Linked DNA regions of Homo sapiens: region 2 is linked to region 1. The links are contacts of gene promoters, found by promoter capture Hi-C in human tissues and cell types (Jung and others, 2019). All regions are on one chromosome and are shown on one strand. Each heading gives the region's core, a stretch centred on a gene start or on the middle of the fragment in contact. The rest is flanking DNA. Distances are from core to core; before and after follow the strand shown. Region 1 holds the start of VSNL1 (visinin like 1). Region 2 overlaps GEN1 (GEN1 Holliday junction 5' flap endonuclease).

Region 1 (4,077 bases), core at 1,056-3,555:
GCTACATAATAGCTGGATATTAAACATTACAATATCGCATTTAGGACGCAAACAGCGCTGCAGTGCAAATGGAACTTTAAAAAATCTGCCCGCCCACGTAGACAAAGCTACTTTACAAAAGCGCACGCGTCGATATCAATCGTACCCTACAACAGAGCATGGTTTAAAGTATCAGTGTACATTTTTTCCTAAACACAAGTTGCAAGTAAGTTATCTAAAATCGAACACCGCCACGAAAGAGACCTCCAGGGTGCAATAAATAGGTATATCTCGTTGAAGTGGAGAAATGGCATCATGACCCTTTGGGTTGATGCAGATTACAGTGCGGAGGCTGTTCTCGAGAGAGAAACTAGAACTCAGCGTAAAATGCTGTAGTAGGGGAAATCGACCAAAGACGAGATTTTGAAAGCCTTTTGAAAGTCGTTTTTCTAGCTAAAAAGAAAAAGTGACTTATTCAGGACTGACTCCCCCTGCCAGTCCCAGGAAACAGGAGCAGCCCGGCGCGCCCGGGAGCCCCGCAGCGCAGTGCGCACTGCGGCTCCAGAGCGAAGGGCTGGCGCCCGCCAGATTCTAAACGTGCTCGGCTGCCGCAGCCCGCCGGGGCCGCGCGCCGTGGTCCGCGCGACTCCGCGCTCCGGGTTTCCGCGGTCACCAGCACTGGCGGAAGAGCCCTGCCGAGAGGGGACAGCCGCGGGCGGTGTCCCGGGAGTCCCGAGAGCGCGCTCCCCCTTTGCGCAACCTTCCCGAGGCGTCCTGCCCGGGAAGCCAGTTCCTGGGTTCTGGGCTGGCTAGGTTGGCAGCGAATGAGGCTTAGGCATCACTGCCTGAGGCCCTCACTTAGCATGTCGACAGCCACAGACTTGTCTGGCGGAGTTTCTCCTGGTGCCCACTTAAGTAGTCTCAAGTTTGTTCAAAGCTGGACTCCTCGACTTGGAACCAGGAGCAGCTGGAGATTTGTCAATTTAGAGCTCATTTGCCACGGGAGACGCTCTTGGTGTCCCCAGCACCGAAGGGTAGGTCAACTCTACAGTTTTCCTGAACATGATAAGGTGTGTGAAGACGCTGTGCAAATTGTACAGCGCTCTGCTTAAGGAGAACCTCGATCTTCATCTCGCCCCCAGAACTTCCCTCCCTTGAAAATAAAACTCCCACCTGAATGTAAAGCCCAGGAGGGGGTTTTGTTAACCGCACTTATTCCCAAAGCATAAAGGAATGTCTAATAGTTTTGCAAATGCTTCCATGAATAATTGTTGAATGAGTTCATGTACAACATACACACTTGAGGAAAACTGGTCTGGTTGGGAACATCTGGGAATTCTCCTTGCTTTTCTGGTAGGGAAGCGACCGACCAAACATTTATTGGGCACTACTCCTTGCCAAGCCTTCTAGGCTTTGGCAGGCCAATGGGGAGCCGGGGGGAGGGCTGGCAAACCTGTTAGTTGTTCAAGGACACAAAGGGGGCTTTATAAGATGGCCTAATCAGAGCCCTTAAACGTGGGTTCGCAAAATGGTTCATTCCCGCCCTTTCACCCACCCCCTCCCACCCCAGACGCAAAGCATATGTTAAAAACACTTAAGTGCATACAGAAGGCGCTTGGCTCAGGGTACACAGGGCAAGAAGCCTCGGATCCCAGCTCCCTTTAACACACATTTTTTCAACGCCGTTCTGGACCGAGACTGTCCGGGGCACTGGGTGCTGCAGGACCCGGCTCCCAGTACTCCTAGCAGAAGACCCTCTGATGAAATGGCCCATGACAAAATGACCACCATAACCGTTCCTTCAGTAAGCCAGGTAGACGTGCTCACAGCTTGCTGGGAAGTCTTCTTTCGGAGATTTCTGCAGTTTTCTCCTTCACCTTACAGCCTAACAAAGGGTGGGCCGGGGGTCGGCTAGGACAGAAAGCAGCGGGAAAAGCGGCTCCACGTGTTCCATCTCTGGCCTCGGCCTTCAGCCCCCAGGTTCGGTAACCACTGGGCGTGGCGAGTCCGGGTAACCCGCAGTCCCTCGCGCCCGTCCAGGTGCGGGTTGCTCCGGTAGCCGGACTCCCTTTTCCTATATACTTTCCTTTTGAGCTTTTGCTAAAATCTGGAGACGTGGAATCCACCCGCGGAAACTCCGAGCCCCTCCGACTGAGCATGCGCCATCGCCAGGCGGCTTTTGGTCACAGGCTCCCGAGTTCTCCTAGCTGGGGCTGCGGAGCTGGGGGGAGGGAAGAGAGGAAAGGGGAGGGGGTGCCTGGAGAGGCGGAGGCTCGCGCGCCTGCGCATCCAGCTCCAGGGACCCTAGGTTTTCTATGGGATTCCCAATCTGCAGCAGAGATTTACCCGAGCGTGTTGCGGCAGCGGCTGGGCTTGCAAGGCGCGATCCAAGAGGGATTTAAGCAGCCCAGAGCTCCAGAGAAAAAGAGAGCGAGAGAGAACCACACACAGAGACGGCTTAAGCGTTTACCCGAATTAAATATATATTTTTAAAAAGAACTGTTGAGTTTTATCATTTTCGTTAAGTGACCGTGCGCAGCGCTGTAACTGTAAGTGGAAAATACAATCTTCGTTGCATTTCTGCATGTGTAGTGCAACCAACTGTCAGAGAAATGCTTTGGCTATTGTCACATACTTTGCTTTGCATAGATGCGTCTAAATGCATGGGGACAATTTCCTTGCTTAATGCTGGCGATCTGAATGTGCTCTTAGTCCATGGGGGATCTTTTGGAATATTGGGGGTGGGGGAAGGGGGAGTGTTTATATGCGGCGTGTTTGGGGGATTGTCTTAGACTAGATTTAAGACAGGTGAAACTGAGATGCTTTCTTAGTTTGTCTTAGACAGATTTAAGTAGCTAATTGACCGATTGTGAAGTTTTCCGGTTGCTGATAAAACTATTGAGCGGGTACAGTCGAGTAGCAACCTGTCATCCGTGGGATTGGTGCACCATTTTTCTCACTGTGGAAGGGCAGCAAAGGTGTTTGCTAAGTAAAACTGAGTGGATGAGATTGGTATGGAAATCATGGTTGATCTCTGAGCGGGATGTTAGTGTTTAAGATCCACGGAGTCAGGCGCAAAATGAGCACATTTCTCTCAGTATTCAGAAATGAGTAGATAATTTTTTTCGTCTTTGATTTTTGTCACAATGGTGAATGGGCAGAAAAGGGAAAGATGCTCTACTGCACTGTCGATTTTGAACGGAGTCACAGGCTCGGTCGCTGAATGGGGACTGTCAGACCCAAACTAGTTACCTGCCTTTGCATTCCGTGTTCGCCATCCGGAATCTGGGGTTAAAAAATGTAAATCAAGGTGTGTTACATTTGGTAGTATTTCTTTAAAGGATAAAAGGTCGTTTTGTGTTTTGAGTTAAAATGGGTTGTTCCTTGCCCAGAAACTGGAAGAAGGGTCTTTGCAAGGTCAAACCCCGGGTGGAAATCAGAATGATGAATACCCTCAGGGGTACAAGAATGTGTACGTGGAAGGAGCGAGGAGAGGCTGATGCTCCCTGCATGGTGGAAATGATGAGTGCTCCGCATTGCCTGATCAGTGCCCTGTGAGATGCCAGAGTGGGAATCCATTTTTCTAGAGTTGCCCTCCTGTCCGTATTTTGGAAACTAAAATAAAATAGAATTGTTGGTGGTTGTGGAGAACACTAAGTACATACTATTTGTGTATCACTTTCCAGTTGAAGGCAAGAAAAGCTGGGGAGTTTTATTTCTACATATTAATATTTATTTTAATTTCTAAAGGAATTTCAGGTTGAGACAAATTTAAAATGAAACTCTTGTGAAAACACATTTTACCCCCACTATCATTTAAACTGCCTACGTGTGTTTGTGTGTGTGTGGTGGGGGGGAGTAGGGGGTGATCCTACATCATTGAACAACTTACTTTTGAATGCACTCTCATTAAGCCTTGGGTATTTAATAACCCCAGAAAATGCTGCACTGAAGCAGGTTGGCAGAATGGGCATGAGGCAGAAAGATGAGAAAAAAGCATGGCTAGTGCGTGCTGGATTTCCACGAAATAAGCAAATCCAATTTTGGGGATGAAATGAAATAAATTTTCCCTCAAATCGGGTGTGGGGGCCATCAAAT
Region 2 (4,077 bases), core at 494-2,993, 220 kb after region 1:
CAACATGTATGAAGCTATGAATCATACCCCTGATTGTATATGTTATTTACTTTTTTAGTTTTTCTCTACTATACATGGAAGTGTGATTAACATTTTTTGTGTATATAATGTTTTCTTGTGATTTGAAATTTTAGATAAAATTACCCAATGTTGGATTGATGGGTCAAAGTTTTGGAATGATTTTATTGCTCTTGCTGATTAATTTCTGCTAATGCAGATGTCAGAGAAGCAGTGTCGGTGCACTCACAAGAACATTGGATGTTAGGAGGCTTGTCTTTGTAATATTTAGTGTGCAACAACAAAGATATTTAATATGCATTTGTCTTTTAATAGTAATGTTAAACATTTCATCTATTTTTAGTCTCCCTTTGGGTAATGGCTATCATCATGTCCTTTACCTACTTACCTCTTGAGGTTTTAATTTTTCTTTTGTGCAAGTTCTTTATGTATTAAGGATATAAGCTTCTATCATATTTGCTTTGAATTTGTTTTTCTTTTTAATTTTAGTTAAAAAATTATGCCATTTTTCTCCTCTTCTGAAATTTTATTTTCTACTCACTTTTAAAAATAGTTTTCAATTAGTGAATATTCCACCCTAATGACTATCAGCAGTTGAAGAAAATATCTGTGCTAAGTTCTAATTACTTCTTGTATAATCAATTCCTGGAAATATTCATGGTCCTCAATCTTAGAGTGTTAAAGAACCAGCATAAAACAAAAAAAGAGATGTCCATCTCTTCTTAAGAAAATTGCTCCATTCCTGTTTCTTTATTGCTGCAGTAATTATGGTGTTCTTAGGCATTTTGTGTCAGTTCAGTATTGCCTGTTAGTCATTTTTATATTTCTGTACTCTTCAGTTACTAGGCCCTGCTTCCTCCTAATCCACTGCTATCTTTTAGGTATTCGCATGAAAAGCACAAATTAGTAGTCCTCCAATACCACCTCCACCCCACATGGTAGAGACATAGAGTGGGAAAAATTGCAACAGCCTTATAGGAAATTCTGTGCTGGTTCTTTGAAAAAATTTGAAGTGGCAAATAGTACAAGAAGTTGAAATAACTGTATTATGAAAGGCTATTTTTTACCTAGGGGTAAGGTCGAAGCAACACTGTCACAAAACTGTCTCTCTAAAATCACGGGGCCAGCGTCCTGAAAAGTGATATTTTTCAACATAGTACTTTGACTTTTTGAACCTTGTCTGCCTTGGGCAACATCTGACAGTGGTAGTTATTATGTAATGTGGCGTGGAAGTGATTAATCAAAGCAAGAAATGGTATTTATTCTGTCAGTCTCTAGAAACTACAAGTAAGTAGCCTTTTCTCCCCACCATACTCAGTAGTCCCTGATAGAGAATGATACATGACAAAAAAGAATGGCGTATTACAAGAAAGAATGAACTAGGCTATAAGGCCAGACTACAAGCTACCCAGCGGGGTTAAATTCATAAACCAGAGGAAAGTCACAGCAAATTATTTGTGCATCAGCAAAATGATGTAATCATTCTGCACAAACATTTGATTTCCTAGGAGGACACTGACAGCTGACTTCTCCGCAGTTTCCCACAATACGAGAGTTTCATTGTACAGGGAAGGCAAGATGAGAAAAAAATGCAAACATTAAAATTCAAGCCAAAACTGTATGATAGCATCTTCTTTGGAAGTACGCGTATTGGGTTGACCATCATGTGAGAAAAATTATTGAAGTCTTCTAGATGTAAATCTTAATATGATTAATTATTATTTAAAGATATTTTCAGAATCTGACTATAATAGCAATGAAATGTGAATATGGATTACTTTGTAATTAACATTAAAATCTTAATTTTTTATTACAGAAAATTTAAATCAACACAAAAGTAACCCATCACTAATCTTAAACCATTATCTTGGCTCATCTTGTTTCATCTATTCCCCTATCCACACATCATTTTGAAGCAAATCGTAGACATAATATTGTATCATTCCCTGTATTTCATGTTTTCTAAAAGATGATTCCTAAAAAATAAAAAGAAACATAACCACAATATAATTTTTATTAGCACACGTAAAAGTTTGGCAGTTCATTCCTTAAAGCCCTCAAATATTCAGTCATTGTTCAAATTTCCAAGTGTTTCTTAAATATCGTAATTTTTAAAACACCAAAATAGCTACTATTAATATTTGTAATACAGAAATAGGTTTAATAGTAAATAAATGAGCAGTGAAAACATTCTTTAACATCTTGCACCTGCTTTTTGTTTTCAGTGCCTCCATATGCTCGAATGCTTAGGAATCCCCTGGGTTCAGGCTGCTGGGGAAGCTGAAGCCATGTGTGCTTATCTCAATGCTGGTGGTCATGTCGATGGCTGCCTCACCAATGATGGAGATACTTTCCTTTATGGGGCCCAGACTGTTTACAGGAATTTCACTATGAATACAAAGGTGTTTATTTTCTTTCTCTTTTTCAGCATTTGTTTACGAACTACCTTTTTTAAAGGGCTGATTAAATGAAATAGTAGATATAAAATGCTTACTGTAATGCCTTGCACGTAGCAATTGCTAATTAAAATGCTTACTGTTATTAAAAATCATTGCCACATAGTTCATTCTCTTCAAAATGTGGATTTATCTCATAAGAACTTGACTTGTTTGTTTCACATGGTTTGATTCTAAATCATTTTCAAAAATACATCACGAATTGCATATGAAAATGTGTTGCTTTGATCCTGAATTTCCAGTTTAGTGTTTCATCCTCAGAAATACCTCCAAATATGCAAAGAGAGAGATATAAAGATGTTCAATGTAGCATTGTTAATAATTACAAAAATTTGGCAAGCAGCCCGAGTGCTCATTGATAGGGACATGGTTAAATCCTTCACACTTACTGGTTCCCAGTTGGAGAGATACTGCTGGGAGACATTTTGGTTGCAACAGTTCAGGCTTGGGCAAAGGAGAGTATAGATATGTGATGGCTTGGTGCCAACCAAACTAAACCTTCTGCCAGACATTTCTGCTATCCCTCCCGAAATGCTAATATTAGCACCCCCATTGAGAAACACTGTTTCAGAGTCCATATGATGTAATACAGTGCAGTCATTGAAAAGGCTATTATTGACATAAAAGATATCCAGACATATTAATGGTGGAAAATTTCTCAAAATAGTATTTTTATATAATCCTACTTTTACTTAAAAAACGTAATTAACAATAAATATTCATATATATGTATCAAAGGAGATGGTTTTTTGGAAGAATATGCACCAAGCTATTAATGATAGCTCAGGCAGTGCAGTTACGGGGAATGTTTACTTTCTATAATATATATATATATATATGTTACAGTGTTTTATTTTGTAAGATGGAAATCTACATTTTTTAGACACCAGAAAGCAATAAAATGGAAAAAATTGGCTAGCATAGTTATTTTTAAGCCATTTTTGAAACTACAACTTTATTTTCATATATTGAAATGTCAGATTCTATAAAGATTCTGCTGATCAGGATAATTTTCTTATATAAAGTTTTTGGAATAATTAAACTTTTTTTCTTTTTTTGAGACGTAGTCTCACTGTGTCACCCAATCTGAAATGCAGTGGTGTGATCTCAGCTCACTGCAACCTCCTCCTCCTGGCTTCAAGTAATTCTTGTGCCTCAGCCTCCCAAGTAACTGGGACTACAGGCACATGCCACCACGCCTGGCTAATTTTTTTGTATTTTTAGTAGAGATGGGGTTTCACCATGTTGGCCAGGCTGGTCTCAAACTCCTGACCTCAAGTGATACACCCACCTTGGCCTCTCAGAGTGCTGGGATTACAGGCATGAGCCACCATGCCCAGCCTGGAATAATTAAACATTTAAAGATAACATTGACAAATTATTTTTGTAATGTGGTTTAATGTATAAATATGTACTTTTTGAGGATTAAACTAAATCTGTTCTTTCTTTAGGACCCACATGTTGACTGTTACACAATGTCATCTATCAAGAGTAAACTAGGTTTGGATAGAGATGCTCTGGTTGGATTAGCAATACTTCTTGGCTGTGATTATCTCCCAAAGGTAAGCTGAAATTGTCATATTTATTTGCTATTCATAAAGTC

The links. Contacts are between HindIII fragments. The study calls those that stand out against the background at their distance.
Region 2: a contact is called between a fragment that was not itself captured here and the fragment with the promoter of VSNL1 in region 1, in 1 of the 25 tissues and cell types used here (pancreas).

What each region holds. Positions count from the first base shown.
Region 1 is chr2:17,538,391-17,542,467 of GRCh38, forward strand. It overlaps VSNL1 (visinin like 1), which reads left to right and starts at 2,306. Exons shown (of 4, transcript NM_003385.5): 1 at 2,306-2,528. RefSeq lists an enhancer at 611-730. The HindIII fragment of the contact is 10,007 bases long and covers 1-4,077 here.
Region 2 is chr2:17,762,654-17,766,730 of GRCh38, forward strand. GEN1 (GEN1 Holliday junction 5' flap endonuclease) reads left to right here. Exons shown (of 14, transcript NM_001130009.3): 4 at 2,244-2,420; 5 at 3,926-4,036. It overlaps LOC105373449 (a long non-coding RNA gene), which reads right to left. Exons shown (of 4, transcript XR_939762.3): 4 at 1,804-1,994. Among named protein-coding and RNA genes, the nearest start is that of GEN1, 11 kb to the left of the region's middle. The HindIII fragment of the contact is 5,353 bases long and covers 1-4,077 here.